2 separate regions of the Homo sapiens genome follow, and region 2 is linked to region 1. Evidence: promoter capture Hi-C in human tissues and cell types (Jung and others, 2019). All regions are on one chromosome and are shown on one strand. The core of a region is centred on a gene start or on the middle of the fragment in contact, and the rest is flanking DNA. Distances in the headings are between cores, read along the strand shown. Region 1 holds the start of TMEM17 (transmembrane protein 17). Region 2 has its middle 51 kb from the start of TMEM17.

Region 1 (7,512 bases), core at 2,040-4,539:
GTTAAGTGGTACATCGAGAATTTTAGGGTATTTGAACCCTGCCCTCTCAGCTTCCAAGGACATTCTTTCTACTGCAGCCCAACACCTTGCCATAAATATCGTAATCTGCTTAATGAGGCCCTGTGGTTGGGCACTTCAAATGCCCATTCCCCTCTTTTCTAAACAATTATCAATAATGTTGGAGAAGCATTTGGTGTATAAAACTTTGTTTCTATGATTATTTTCCTTTAATAGAGCACGCCTTAAGATTTTATCGTGTTAAAGGAGGCAGGAACGTTTTAAAGGCTATTTCTATACATTGCCGATTACTTGTCTCAATGCGGTTGGCCAAATTATAATTCAACAGCTGAGCCTGAGGCCTCCTGCTTCACTGTTCCGTTTATAAAAAATCTCGGTTCATTTGATAAATGAAAAGTGATTCTCTGTTGCTAAGGTTTTTTAAATTGTTATGATTCACTATGTTTTAATACACCAATTCACCATTTTACAAAGTGAACCTTTTAAAGGGCTAGCTAAGTCCTTGAACTAGAAGGGGAAGACAAGAGAGTGGTCATTAGGCTTTTTCTTCCTTTTACTCACTCAACAGTCATCCAGCTCCTACTCATGGCCAGGTACCACACTGTGCTAGTGTTGGGGATATAAAGATGAAAGTCCATTCTTGACCTCTAAGAGCTTGAGGACTAGCAAGAGACACAGACACATAAACAGACAATTTTAGTATAGAGTGACCAGCACTGTGACCAAAGAAACAAGAGGAAGATGCTTTGGGAAACACAGAAGAGAGCACCTAAGCTATTTCAGGAAGGTCCTAGAAGCCTTTTTGGAGATTCTCAGGTCTGAACTCCATCTTGAAATGAAGCAGAAGTTAACCAGCTTTTCCCTGACATCCTCAACCCGAATTAATTGCTTCTTTAATAATTAAAAGACGTGGTCCTTTAATAGAGCACGTCTAATAACAGTGTTTGCACTTACTTGTTTCCATGTCTCTCTTTCACTGAGCTGTGCTTCTTGATGAGGAGGGACCATATCCCTAATTAGCCTAGCACGATATCCAAATAAGCAGTAGGAATGCAATAAACGTTTGTGTAATTATTTTAAAATTCTAGTCATGAACTTATTTCCACCCATATCTTCTTCTTGCATTTATATAAATGTGTAATTTTCCTTTTGATTGTAAAAATAATACTTTTACCACACACCCATCAGAAGGGCTAAAAGGAAAGGATAAGAAATAACAAGTGTTGGTGAAGTATATGGAGTAATGGAAATATTCACACATTGCTGGAGGCAGCAGAAATTGGTTTGATCACTTTGGAAAACTGTAGGCAGCCTCTACTAAAGCTGGGTCTTTCGTATCCTATGACACGGCAATTCCACTCTCGATATACACTCAACAAAAATGCATGCATATGTTCACCAAGAGGCATCTTTTCCCCAAAGCAGCACTATACACAACAGCTCCAAACTAGAAAATACAGACACTCATCAACAGTAGAATGAGTAAGCTTATTGTGGTATGATCACAAAGAGCAAGGCAAAAGAATCTACACTCAATGACATGAAGGAATTTCATGAAAGTAATGTTGAAGACAAAGCCAGTTTTTTAAAAAAGTACTTACAGTATGATTGCTTTTATATAAATATGCAAAACAGAAGCAAGATGACAAAGGGAGTGTCATCATCTAGAAAGTGGTGCGATAAGATGCACAGCTAGTGCTGCCCTGTGACTCTAACTCCTTCAAAAGTCCGCCTGTGGCAAACGCGGCTACCCTCCCAAGCCAAGATAAAGTATAATTGGAGTGCCGAGGCTAAAAAATATACCAGTGGGACTGGTCGAATGAGGCACTTAAAAATTGTGTACAGCAGGTTAAGGCATGGATTTTTTAAAGGAATGCCACCTAAACCCAAGAGGACAGCTGCTGCAGCATCCAGTTCATCTTAAGAATTTCAGGCCAGGTACGGTGGCTCACACCTGTAATCCCAGCACTTTGGGAGGCCAAGGCGGGTGGATCACTTGAGGTCAGGAGTTCGAGACCAGCCTGGCCAACATGGCGAAACCCTGTCTCTACTAAAAATACAATAATTAGCCGAGTGTGGTGGCGGGCACCTGTAATCCCAGCCACTCGGTAGGCTGAGGCAGGAGAATCACTTGAACCCAGGAGGCGGAGGTTGCAGTGAGCCGAGATTGTGCCATTGCACTCCAGCCTGGGTGACAGAGCAAGATTCTGTCTAAAAAAAAAAAAAAAAAAAAAAATTTTAGATTAGTCACACAATAAATGTTCTGATTTAAAAAAAAAAAGGCAAAACTCTCCTTTGCTGTTAGAATTCAGGAAAGGTCAGTTATGAGTGAGGAGTGGGTTTAGTGACTGAAAGGAAATAGGAAGGGGGAGTTTCTGGGAATATTGTAAAGTTTCTTGAACAGGGTGCTGATTACACATACAGATTTCAGTCTATGTATATATATTACACTTATTTCTTAAGTAATATATATTACTTACAAAAGGTGTACAATTTTTCTGTATGTGTATTACACTTAGTTTTTTTTAAGTAATATATCTTGAGAGAAAGCTAGAAAATAAGACGTTTAAAAATTTTTGAATCACCTACAATCCCACTATCCAGTGAAAACGACTGTTAACATTTTGGACTTTTTTCCAGTTCTTTTTTTCAAGCCAGTGTGCACACGCTCTCTCCTCCCCTCCACTCATACACATAAATTTTGCTAAATTAGGTTCATTCTCATTTAGTTTTATTTCTGCTGTATTTTTACATAAAGTTAAACTATACCATTCAATATCCTTTGCAAGCATTTTATAAGCAGCTGAAACATACTCCATTGAATGTATGTGCTCCAGTACATTTAATCAGTTGCCCATTGCTGTTTTCTTATTAAAAAATAATCAGTCACATGATGTCTCTCTCTCTCACACACACCCCTACACCTCTAGACATTCTTTAAGCTCTGCATTCGTTCTCTATTTCTCTCCAGAAAGGTTGTACCGATTTACAGTTCCACTGGCAAATGTGAGGGCTCCTTGTATCGCAGTCCAACCCCAGCTCATTTCTTAGTATAGGTTTGTTTTTAGGATGGTCGAGCTCAAAGCAGAACTAAGGGATCTGCCGTTTTGTACACGGCCGAGGCGCGCGGCTCCCTGGGCCTGGAACGCGCTCTGAGCGCGCCGGTCCCTTCCAGGTTGCGCGGGCTCCGGACGAGACCCAGCCCAGCCGGGCAGCCCCGCGCGCTCCCGGGTCCCGCCGGCCTCGCGCCGCCCGGTTGCCGTGGGAACCACGGAGCCTCGGAGCGCCCGCAGACTAGCCCGTGTCTGAGGGGGTGAGGGATACTGAGGCCCAGGCATGGAGCTGCCGGATCCGGTGCGCCAGCGGCTGGGAAACTTCAGCCGGGCCGTGTTCAGTGATTCCAATCGGACCGGTCCAGAGTCCAATGAGGGTCCGGGTGAGTGACCGAGGCCCGGTGCAGGGGGTGTGGCCTGCCGAGGGCTTGGCGTGGATTTTGGAGCGTCCAGAATTTGCCCGTACCTAAAATGGCGATGTCGCCTTCAGCCAGTTCTCCGCAGTGCGGGAGAGCGCCTTGGAGGAGGGGCCGGGCCGGACAGGGAGCTGAGGCGCTGGCGGCCTCCCGCCCCCGGCCGGGCCTGGTCTCCGCGTGGTGCTCCCTGGCCAGCTTGTTGCAAGCGCGGCAGCTGACGTGGGGCCGATCTCTGTGCCGCGCAAGGCCCATCATTGTCCCGGAGAAACCCCAAAAATAAAAAGATAAAAGCCGCCCTTGCTGCACAGGCTGGTCCCCCGCGCGCCGCGAGAGCGAAGGCCCAAGTTGTTTTGCCTCTGCGGCGCCCGCCCCGGCTTTTCTGTCCAGGATGACGAGGAATAGCCCAAGCAATCCCACCTCCCCCGTCCCCACCCCCACCCCAGGGAACAAATTTGCCTTTTCCCTTTTCCTAGCAGAACAAGTATGTTCCTAAGCAAGGCCATTTTCTCGTAGAAGACATTAAAAAAAAAAGTTAATGAGTCCTTTCAAACCACCATCCACTCCCACTGGCATGTGCCATACTAGCCGGGCGTTCAACAAAACTCACCCCTTCCCTGCCTTCTCCTCCTCCCCTATATGTAACTCTTATCATAAGGTAACAAAATACCATGATGCTTCTGCGTCCTTTAACTTGATGTCAAGTGATAACACAGTTTCCTCCAGAACAGTTTCCTCCTCCTACATCATGATGGTAGACAACACACTGTCAACCAAACCCATGTGGTTTTCATCATTCAACTCTGCTGGGAAATATCAATCTTTTCCTCTGCTTGGTTTTAGAGAATTTTTAAAAGGGACAGAGAAAAGTAAAGGCAGTTCCCAAAGCTGCATTTTGTCACCTTGATCACTTGCCTATTTCCCAAATGTAGGCCTTTATGATTTAGGATGTACAGAGAAAAATGTGAAAAAAATAGGTTTTCACGTTTCTGGTTCCAAGGATGAGGCTTAATGAGCACTAACGTCTGATAATACAAGGTAAAAAGACGTTTTCTGAAAAGGACCAGATAGTAAATATTTTAGACTTTGTAGGCCATATGGTCTCCACGGCAGCCATTGACAATAGTTATTGAATAGGCAGGGCTGTGTTCCAATAAAACTTTATGGACACTGAAATTTGTATTTCATATGGATTTCACGTGTGGAAAAAATATTACTTTTTTAACCATTTAAACGTGAAAAAACATTTTTAGCTCATTGACTGTACAAAAACAGGCAGCTGGCCAGTTGTTTACCTATCCCTGATTTATATTGTATGTTTTAATTTAAATTCCATTTACAGAACTCAACTTGAACTTTTGCAAAATTTAGTAAGTTTATGTCTTACGCTTTTAAGGTTCATTTACATATTAATTTGATTTTCATTTCCATGATTATAAGTTTGATCTGCTGAAATATGGACATAGCATAACCTTTAAGATGTTAACACACAATACTTCTAACATGAAAACCATTCTTTGCAAAATTTGACTACAGTTTCTTCTCAAAGGTACTGAAATGTTCAGCTTGCCCAATTTATTATTCTTTCCCAAATTTTCTTCTTTGTGGATTGGAAGTAGGTTTGATTATTTGTACTGTAATAACAAGTTTATGTCATTACCATGTCCGCAGCTTTGTACTGTTGCTATCGAAAAGATCCTAGGCTGGTGAGTTGTCTTCAGATTTAACAGATTTTAAGAATTCATTCCTTTATCAGTGGTAATTTAATAAACAGTTGCAAGCAAAAGTAGATCATAATAATCAGGCATATTCTTGGAGCTAAAAGAAACTATTTTGCTGTGAGAGACCATGACTATTTCTTATATTTTAAAATAATTAAGTGACAGATAAAAACACTCAGCTATGGAGAAAAGGAGAAAATAATGTTTTTAAGACATTTATTTTAGAGCCTTTAAAATCTTACGTGTACAGCAACTGATTTCAATATATGTGTCTGCTCTTAAGAATTTAGTCAAATTTAGGATGTATTTTGTAGGGCTCAATTTTAAAAATCAAATTCTTAATCTAGGACCCTGCTCTCTTACATAAAAGCAGAAAGTGTTATGGAATCAACCTTAGGTAAATGGAACTCATGTATCACAAATGGCTATGCTAGTAATGTCCTTATGACAGTATACTTTCATTAATTCATTCTTATGTGTATTTGATATTCACTGCGTGGAAAGCAAGATGCTAGATTCTATGAGGGTCTCAAATTAGGGTAGGACATGGTGTGTGCTTGCAATGAGCCTGTAGATAAGTAGAAGAGAAGAAGGAAAGAGGACTAATATTTGTTGAGTGCCTACTAAGTGTGCCAGGCACAGTGCTAGGATGAAATAATTTATATTGGCTCTAATTCTCACAAACAGCCTGTGAGGAAGTTTTAATTTCACTATTTTACAGATGAAGAAATAGAAGCTCAAAGAGTTTAAATAATTCATGTCAAGTCTGACATCCAGGGTCACAGAGGTTTGGGGAGCTCGGATTTGCTTGAACTCTGAAGCCCATGATCTGTTCAGTACACCAGACTGTTTTTTGGGGAGGGGAGTGTGGTTCTTTGCTAGCACTTCTTATTGACAGTTTAGAGTGGTAAGTACCTAAAGGGGAAAGGTATTTCTGCTGAGGTGGGGGAACTGATGAAGGAAGTATTGATGGAAAAGATGACACTGAATTGGACTTTAAAGAATGGCTAAGATTAGGGTATGCTGAAAAGAGAGATGTGTCTAATTATAACCTTGGTAATCCGTTTTTGTATAAGATTAGTTTATCTGTGGGAGATTCATTTTTATTTATTTTATGCATTAATTTTATATGCTATTTACATAGAATTCTACAAAAGAGGCAATGATAATTATCTGTTGAATAGGATTTATGTTGATATTCTACATTAAATCTATACCAGTAGTATATGCCAAAAAGTCAGAAGACTGTAATGGCAAAATGGTAAAATAATTGAAAAATATGAAACGTACCCCCAAATAGCCAATATTTGACCTAACTGGTATTAGGATGAATATTCCTTTTACTGTCAATGATTATAAATAGGCATAAAATTTGGTGTTTTACTGAGCCAATATTATAGTTATTAATTCTAGGGAATAGGATATATATATATAGGGCATAAACCCAAGATTCATCATTTGTTCCTTTTCTGTTCCTTCTGTAGAAAATGAAATGGTCTCCAGTTTGGCACTGCAGATGTCACTTTATTTTAATACCTACTATTTCCCACTGTGGTGGGTGAGCAGCATTATGATGCTTCACATGAAGGTAAATCTAAGCTTTAATACTTTTGCTGCCCTGACGTTGTTAGAGTGTCAATAAAATTCAAGTTCTTAATAATTTTTTCTATCTTAAATCAATGTTACTATACATGAGATTTTACAAACATGTTTTGGCTTTTCTTTTAGTATTCAATCTTACCTGACTACTACAAATTCATTGTGATCACTGTTATCATCCTAATAACCTTAATTGAAGCCATCCGGTTGTATCTGGGCTACGTGGGTAACCTACAGGAGAAGGTAAGCTCTTTTTTCCTTTCTCTCAGTGATAGATATAAATGAAATCAGTTTTCATAACAAGTAAAAGGCAGTGAGGTGTGGCAGAAAGAGCACAGGCCTGAATTTAAAGCCTGACTCCAGCTTTACCACTTCTGTCACTGTGGTCTGTTTGCTTAATCTCTTGAGCCCTGGTTTCCTCATATATAAAATGAGGAAAATAATATTTACTTCACAGGTTTGTTGTGATTAAGTGAAATGATTTATGTAAAGTATATGAATGTAGTAAACACTTAAAATTGATATTTTCCCTCTTCTTATCAGTCTTGAAAATACATGGTTACTTAAACATGTGTATTTGGATCCTGAATAAGAAAATGGGGGAAAATTATGAATTCATTTCCTATGCCAGGCCCATGTTTTCTGCATCATCATGCTGCCTAAGCATTTGTGGTTACCAGAGTATAGGGATAATGCCTAAAGATTCCC
Region 2 (7,512 bases), core at 2,940-5,439, 51 kb before region 1:
TCAAAGAAGTCAAGCAAAACATCCATCTTATCCTAGCCCCTCTTGCAGGCAAAGGAAAGCAGTTGTAAGAGAAAATGGTACAGCAGTTACAAGAGGATGTGGACATGGAAGATGCTTCTTAAAAAAAATCTCTGTAACCATTTCTTTTATGTACATTTGAAAATGCCCTCTGGAGACTTGGAACTACTAAATTATTACTTTACTTTTTACATAAGGTCACTTAAATGAAAAGTGATTAAAATATATCTTTCCTACATTGTCATCTACGAAACGTCACATATTACGGACATTAGATTGCATCTCAGTGTTAAATCTTCACTGATAGATGTACTTATGTAAATCATGAAAATTCTACTTATAACTATAGAAGTGAATTGTGGACATAAAATGGTTATGCCATTTGGATAATGGCACTAGGCAGCATTTGTATAATAACTAATGGCAAAAATTCATGGCCAGTGATGTATAAAATAAAATATTCTTGGCAGTAAAATATTCCCTTTATTAATGTTATAGAAGTGGGGGATACAACAAGGAAATAACAATTTGTATGACAGTGTCAAATATTATTTTAATTTTAGTATTTCCTGTTTTGGTTTATTTGTATCTTAGAAGAGCATAATGACATTGTTGGATGAAGCCTAATTATGCTGGACTGTTTTGACCTGGTTTAACCCTTCTGATAGGTAGCTGTGGATGTTGGGGATGAGAACTGAATAATCTTTGCCTGGAGTGACACTACACTCTAGAATTTCCACTTTGGAGAATACTCAGTTCTAACTTGTGATTCCTGATAGAACAAACTTTATTTTTCTAGCCTAGCAATGATCTAGAAGTGGAGGAATCCCAGCACCTTTTAAAAGTTATTATGTGGTTTTCTTTTAAAAAGCTCCTGTTTTTGGAAAGTAGAATTTATGGGTACAACATCTGTTCACTATTTGCACATAAAGCCATTTAAAAGGTTTAAAAAAAAGTGGCACAGGAGTTTTCACTATTTAAGCAGCTGGTTAGAGCTCTTCTGGGGCATATCTGTCCACTGTATCTCCTGTGTTCCATCAGAATGCACACCTGACTTTCCAAATGTGGCCTTAAAATCTTAGAAGTTCAGAGATTATCTACTCTATTCCTGACATTTTACAGATGAAGAAACCAAGGTTGAGGAAAGGTGAGTGGTTTGCTCAAGATGCATGAATAATGAGAGTCGGAATGAGTTCCCACATCTCCAAATCTCAATCCAGGTCAGTTGAGATGGGCAAAACATCCTCATACCAAATTAACTTGCCCACTCATCATTTTTGTGCCACTCCCAAATCAGAGCTGCAATTTACTTTCTACTTGTGTAAATAGAAAAAGTGTATATATTCTTCATGAGAGCAAAAGACCTTGGATATGGAAAACAAAAGGGCAGTGGGTCCAGACTTCAGGGTAATTATTTGTAACTTATGTTAATGGAAAGCATGAGGGTGCACACGTAGCACATCTCAACAGAATCCATGCATCGTTGGAAAAGCAAATTTGAAGATAATAAATCAAAGGCATTTAAAGTAAAATATGCTGGCATGCAATCTCATTTTGTAGCTTTTTTCTTCCTAGTTATCAAAAAGATCATGAAAGAAACAAAAAAAGATAGAAGAAAAGGATTCTGTTCACCTTATAGCTTATTTAGAAAACTGCCAATAAAATGATGCAGGGGGACTTTTTGGGTGCTTCAGGTTTGGTGTGTATAGAGGGAAAAATGAGAATATTCATTCATTCATATTTTCATAATAACTACTGATATTTGAATGGCCATTTACAGTTTTAAGTGTTTTCCTAAACACTTGGTAGAAGAATATTGGCATGGGAAATATTTTGCAGTATATTATTGCTAAGTAGAAATGCAGGCTACAAAAATAGTATGCACATTCAAGATGTTATTTTTGTTTAAAAAGAAGTGTATTTGTGTGTGTATGTGTGTGTGCGTGCACACACCCATACATATAAAATAATTGAGAAGACATATTGAAATACTATCTGTTCTCCTTGATTGGTAAGATTATGGTTTCTTCTTTAGCATTTTTCTGCTTTGTAAGTTGCTTGCATTGAACATATATTACTTTCATCATTAGAAAAAAATGGAAAAGTGCTTTCATCTGCATTTTTCTTCACTGGAACTTTTAACAACCATGTGAGGTACAACACCTCTCTTTATAGAAGATGATATTGAGGTTCAGAAGAACTGAGTGACCTACTATTTGGCAAGTAGCAAGTATTAGAGCTTGGGTTTTCATCTAGGCCATCTAATTCTAAATCTTACACTTTTTCCTCTACATTATGATACTCAATTCTCAGAGCTGGTTTATGTGGCAGCTCACTGTAGCATGTTCAGGGCTATCTTCATGTTGTCCTTGCAATAGAGCATCATCCATTCATTTGTACCTGTTGATCATTTTGTAGAAACCAATTTTCCAGTTAAAATGGTTGCTGTTCTGGATGTTTCACCAATGACTTGAAGCAGTTAAGCTTCCACAACAAATTCCCTTAGCTTTATTCATTTGAATAGCTATTATTTCAAAGTAGTGTACTATGTAACACTCTCAAACCTTAAAAGCTTCCTGGATGCTCTCTTGGACTCTGTCATCTTTCTCCATATCCAATTTCTACTCCTATCAGTTTTTCAAGGTATGTGTTTTTCTGTGACCTTTTTCTTTTCTTTCTTTTTTTTTAATGTGACCTTTTTCTTAAAAGCTACTTCTTGCTTGCTAATAGGCCCTGTTCCACTGTGAAAAAGCAAAGAGAATCACGAGGGAAGTAGAGCAATGGAGCTAAATGTGACCACAAGCTCTGCTGGAAGCTCTGAAAATCTAATCCATTATCCCATTACTTCACAGATGAGCTCAGAAAGCTGCTGCTGTTGATTGTCTGGCCATGGAAAGAGTTCTCAGTCAAATGAAAGTCTCTGCCTTGGGATTTATTAAACACTTTTATTCTTTGACTTTTCACACAAATTTTGCAGCATCAGGTAAATATTCTCAATATCAACAATGTTTACAATAGAAAGATTAAGAGTTGAGGGCCTTATAACCATTTTGTGAGGTACATAGAGAAGTTCTGAGTGTGTTAGGCCATTCTTGCGTTGCTATAAAGAAATATCTGAGAGTGGACAATTTATAAAGAAAAGAGGTTTAATTGCTCACAGTTCTACAGGCTGTACAGGAAGCATGGTGCTGGCATCTACTCGACTTCTAGAGAGACCACAGGAAGCTTACAATCATGGTGGAAGGTGAAGGGGGAGCAGGCATGTCACATGGCCAGAGCAAGAGCAAAAGAAAGAGTAGGGGAGTGCCGCACACTTTTAAATGACCAGATATCTTGCGAACCCATTCACTATCATGAAGACAGAACCAAGCCATGAGGAATCCACCCCCATGACCAAATACCTCCCACCAGGCCCCACCTCCAGCACTGGGAATTAGAATTCAACATGAGAGTTGGGCAGGGACAAATATCCAAACTACATCACTGAGTTAAGGCCAGTCTTTTGGACTTTGTGTACCTTTGGCTGGTAAAACTCTACCTTTATCCTTCAGAGCTGAGTCGTATTGTCCTGGGCCCCAAGACAATGGTTTCTAGGTGTTGGTTCTTTCTTTCTGCTTTTTAAAAATAATGCATGTCTTCAGCCAGAGGAGAGGTTGCTGATTTTTAAGTAATGGGACCCAGATGTTCCTGGGCCTCATAGGCAGCCCTGTCCTGGGGTCACAAACACCTTGAAGTGGGACTTAACACTTCAATTTGTTCTTGTACTTCTCAACAAGAACAAACTCAATTTCCTTCAACATAGTGATAAGAAATATAGATATTATTGTAGGTTTTATGGAGAAAGGCATGAAAGGATTATATGGAGCACCACATAGCAAATTTTAATAAAAATTCCTGTTTAACATCTGGGGTCTCCTCAGAAAGTTCCCCTTAGCCACTTTCCCACCCTTCAATCTTGCCACACATAGGCTCCACATTTTCCCTGGTTCTTCTGGATCTCATTCATTTTCCATTCACCCTGACTCACCCCTGCCTACCTCCTACAATAAATGAATAAACAGGATTTTTCTAATGCAGAACAATTTGGTGAACTCTCTTAACCCTGCATCCTCATACCCATCACTCTGTTCAGCAAAGAACCTCCTTTGGAGGCAGCTGGGTATTGTAAATTGCAGGTAATTTTTCTCTGTCACAAACAATTTTTTCCCTTGTCACTGTAGTGTTGGTGTAGCATGCCAAATTTTCAAACTGTAGGTCCAAATTCCAAGGAGCTTTTCTTCAAGGGTAGATTATCAAAAGTTTGCATCTTTCTTTAGCAGAGCTGTTTCATAGAGACGTAGAGAGAGAGAGAGCCTGAGATGGGAGAAAACTAAGGAATTTAAGGCAAAGAAAAGAGAAACTGAAATTTATTAGGCACTGTGCTAATGAATTTCCTTACATACATTATTTCATGGCATTTTTACAACCATATTTTACAGAGATGGAAACTGAGGGCTTAGAGAAGTTAAAATAAATTTGCAAAGTCTCATTGCCAGTAAGAGGTGCAGCTGGGATTCTAAAGCCAAGTCCATCGGCTCCAAAGTGTGAGGTCTTTCCTTATGTGCCATCACCTTCCACAGGCTTGGGATTTCCAATATTTAGAGAACTACCTCCTCTACCATCCCATCAAACTTCTTGGCAGCTCAGCTTTGCATCTGTCCACAGAAAGCCATTTCTCTTCTTACACGAACCTGGCCCAGGGACAGCTGGATTTAATGGTCTTGCCTGGCTCAGTCTTTCCCTGTTCCATTGCCAGTCCTATCCCAGCAGCCACAAAGATTCCTAACGTCTCATGGGAAGGTCAAGGTATTGGCACTAGTGGGACTGGGATAGTAGATGAGCTTGACTGCTGCAGTGGAAAGGACCTTGGAGCAAGATTGAGGGTAGGCAGAATTTCATAACAACCATAGGATAAATCAGTGTGTATGCCTCCTTGATCTCTTTGGAAACAAATTTTTGCACATAGTGCAGTGAAACAGGGAAGACAAGAATTCATATTTAGAGACTGGTTCTCACAATGTTTCTCAAACATACAAAAGTACCTTTTTTTCTTAATTTTATGTATTAATGGTTTAGCAACTTGACATGAACAGAGTTAGTCTTGTAATATAAAATAAGACAGAACATATTTTAGTTTCCTCTGTCATCCCCAAGATGCATTATTTTTATACACACAGGGCAGGCTGCATGTGGATTTACTTCAGCTGCCCACTTGGTGCCTGAAGTATCATTGTTCAACTTACTTAATTTCTTTCTACTCTAGTTTCTTTGACTAAAAAGGAAGAGGGTAGACTGGATAATTCCCGGGTTCCCTTCCAGCTATGTAGTTTATAGAGTGTTGGACATCTGCAAAGAGCCATGTACCTTGTGAAAAACACTATCCCATCATACTGGGTAGAATCTCAAACTGAACATATTTAGCAGCAATCATAACTCAATAGATGTTTGTAGAATAAATGAATTTTTAAATGTGTTACTGCTTTGAATTAACAGCAATATCAATATCCCATGCCTACTTTATTTGTATGCAATGTAAGCTAACTACTGAATTTTTTTAGAAGTATTCTAGTTCTGTTCTCTTTTTAAACTTACCTTTAAGCAGTGGAACACTTTTTTCAAATGAAATTCAGATTAGAGATCAACTTATATAAAATGGACAAAAATAGAGTATCTCATATTGAAACTGGAGTGGGGAGCCCCTTCCACTCACCCCTGTTGATCCTGAGAGACTTCCAAGGAACTCATTGGAACACTCAGAGCTTAGTGTGAAAAATCATCAATCCAGCCTATCCCACTACAACCAGGTGGAAATATCCACGTCACTTGAGACTTTTGTTTTTGAAATCTTCTGAGATGAGTCCACTAGTAGGAAGAGGTGCTTACCTAAATAAACAAAAAGTCTAACATGAGACCATCAGGTAACTATGTTTGCCTTCCTGGTGATGTTTTTCTAACATGGATGAGGGAATAAAATACTCTTGCAAAGATTTAGAGCCTCAAGATACTTCAGGCATAGATGAAACACATTTTACCATGAACCTGGACATCTGAGAGGTGGTTCAGAGCAAGTAAAAGCATAAGAGGATTTATCCTGATGCTGTCTTTGGTTGGAGCCTGAAGTCAATTACACATATAAAGTTCTAATCCTCACACAGTTGTGCTTTTCCTTATGCTGCTGATACTCAGCACCAAAGTCTAGGATTTTTTTCATTAGAAAATTTTTCTCATGAATAGTGTTTTCTGCCAAAGGGAACAAACTTGCTCCAAACAGAACAGCATTACAAAAAGCACAAGAAAGACATTTGTCAATAGGAAATCACACAATGAAATGTCTGTTGAGTGGATGACCCACAGTTGGAAGTAGTTGAGAGGAAAGTACAGTCAAGGGCCCACACAATACACTGGGTGAGGCTGTGGCACATGCTATTATCAGAGGGCCATGAACACTTAATCTACCAGGGGATGACTTAGCTTAAATCCAGCAAGTGATAATTTTCTTTATATTTCTTGGGGAAAATGGGAACACTTTTATGTTCATAAATACTGTTTGACTGTAGGCCAAGTTTTAAGTATGGTTAAAATTCTGAGAATATTAATGACTATCTGATGGGGAAGGATGGAACAACCTCTATTAGACAACGGCATGATTGAAATTTTATTTTTTTTCATTGACTATAACATTAAGAATGCATCAAGGAAAAGAGCCTAACTAATAATGGTTAAATTTAGGAGCTAGGGCCATTGGGAAGAGGCTACATGTACCTCTGCTTATGTTTAGTACATCGCTGGCAGTCAATACACTTAACATAATTTTACTATATAAATTGATTATTTACAGAGACAGATGAGGCAAATAGTTCATTTTTGTAACAGTAAATTCAGGATATAAGTACTTCAGAGATGGTCAATTCAGTTCCTAGCTCAAGAGCTTATACTCTAGCTTTTAGTCTCGGAAACAGGCAAGTAAATGAAGAATTGGAGAAAGCATGATGTGTGTAAGTACAAGGAGAGCAGAGGAAAGAAACACCTTAATCCAGCAAGGGTGATCTGGGGAGGCTTCCAGAGGAGATGACACCTGGGCTGAATCTTGAAGGATAAATAAGACAGAAAGGAGGGAAAGGAGGGAAAGGGCAGTGGGAATGGGAGGAGGAGGTCTAGATGAAGAAGGCAGCAGGTACAAAAAGAAAAACACATTGCTTATTTAATAGTGCCGTGTGGTTGGAATATAGTGTTTGTGTGGGGATAGGAAGAGATTTGGCTAGAAAAGTAGGCATGAAGGACATGTAAGTGTCAAACTAAGGAGTATGAGCATCAGTTATTAAGGCTACCCGCAGCCATTAAGGAATTTAAGCAGAGAAATAATATGATCAGATAAGCATGTTAGAAACAATTCATTAGTAGCAGTATGATGTCAAAGTATAATTTCCAAAGAGTTTAAAAACATGAGTCACATAT

What was found. The method cuts DNA at HindIII sites, captures the fragments that hold promoters and counts their contacts. A contact is called where the count stands out against the background at its distance.
Region 2: a fragment that was not itself captured here is called in contact with the fragment with the promoter of TMEM17 in region 1 in 1 of the 25 tissues and cell types used here (mesenchymal stem cells).

What each region holds. Positions count from the first base shown.
Region 1 is chr2:62,501,972-62,509,483 of GRCh38, reverse strand. It overlaps TMEM17 (transmembrane protein 17), which reads left to right and starts at 3,289. Exons shown (of 4, transcript NM_198276.3): 1 at 3,289-3,454; 2 at 6,690-6,793; 3 at 6,934-7,047. The coding sequence starts at 3,355. It also overlaps the pseudogene RPL37P13. RefSeq lists silencers at 3,109-3,378, 3,589-3,758, 4,096-4,390 and an enhancer at 7,203-7,512. The HindIII fragment of the contact is 10,369 bases long and covers 1-4,155 here.
Region 2 is chr2:62,553,550-62,561,061 of GRCh38, reverse strand. It overlaps the pseudogene RSL24D1P2. Among named protein-coding and RNA genes, the nearest start is that of TMEM17, 51 kb to the right of the region's middle. The HindIII fragment of the contact is 3,285 bases long and covers 2,547-5,831 here.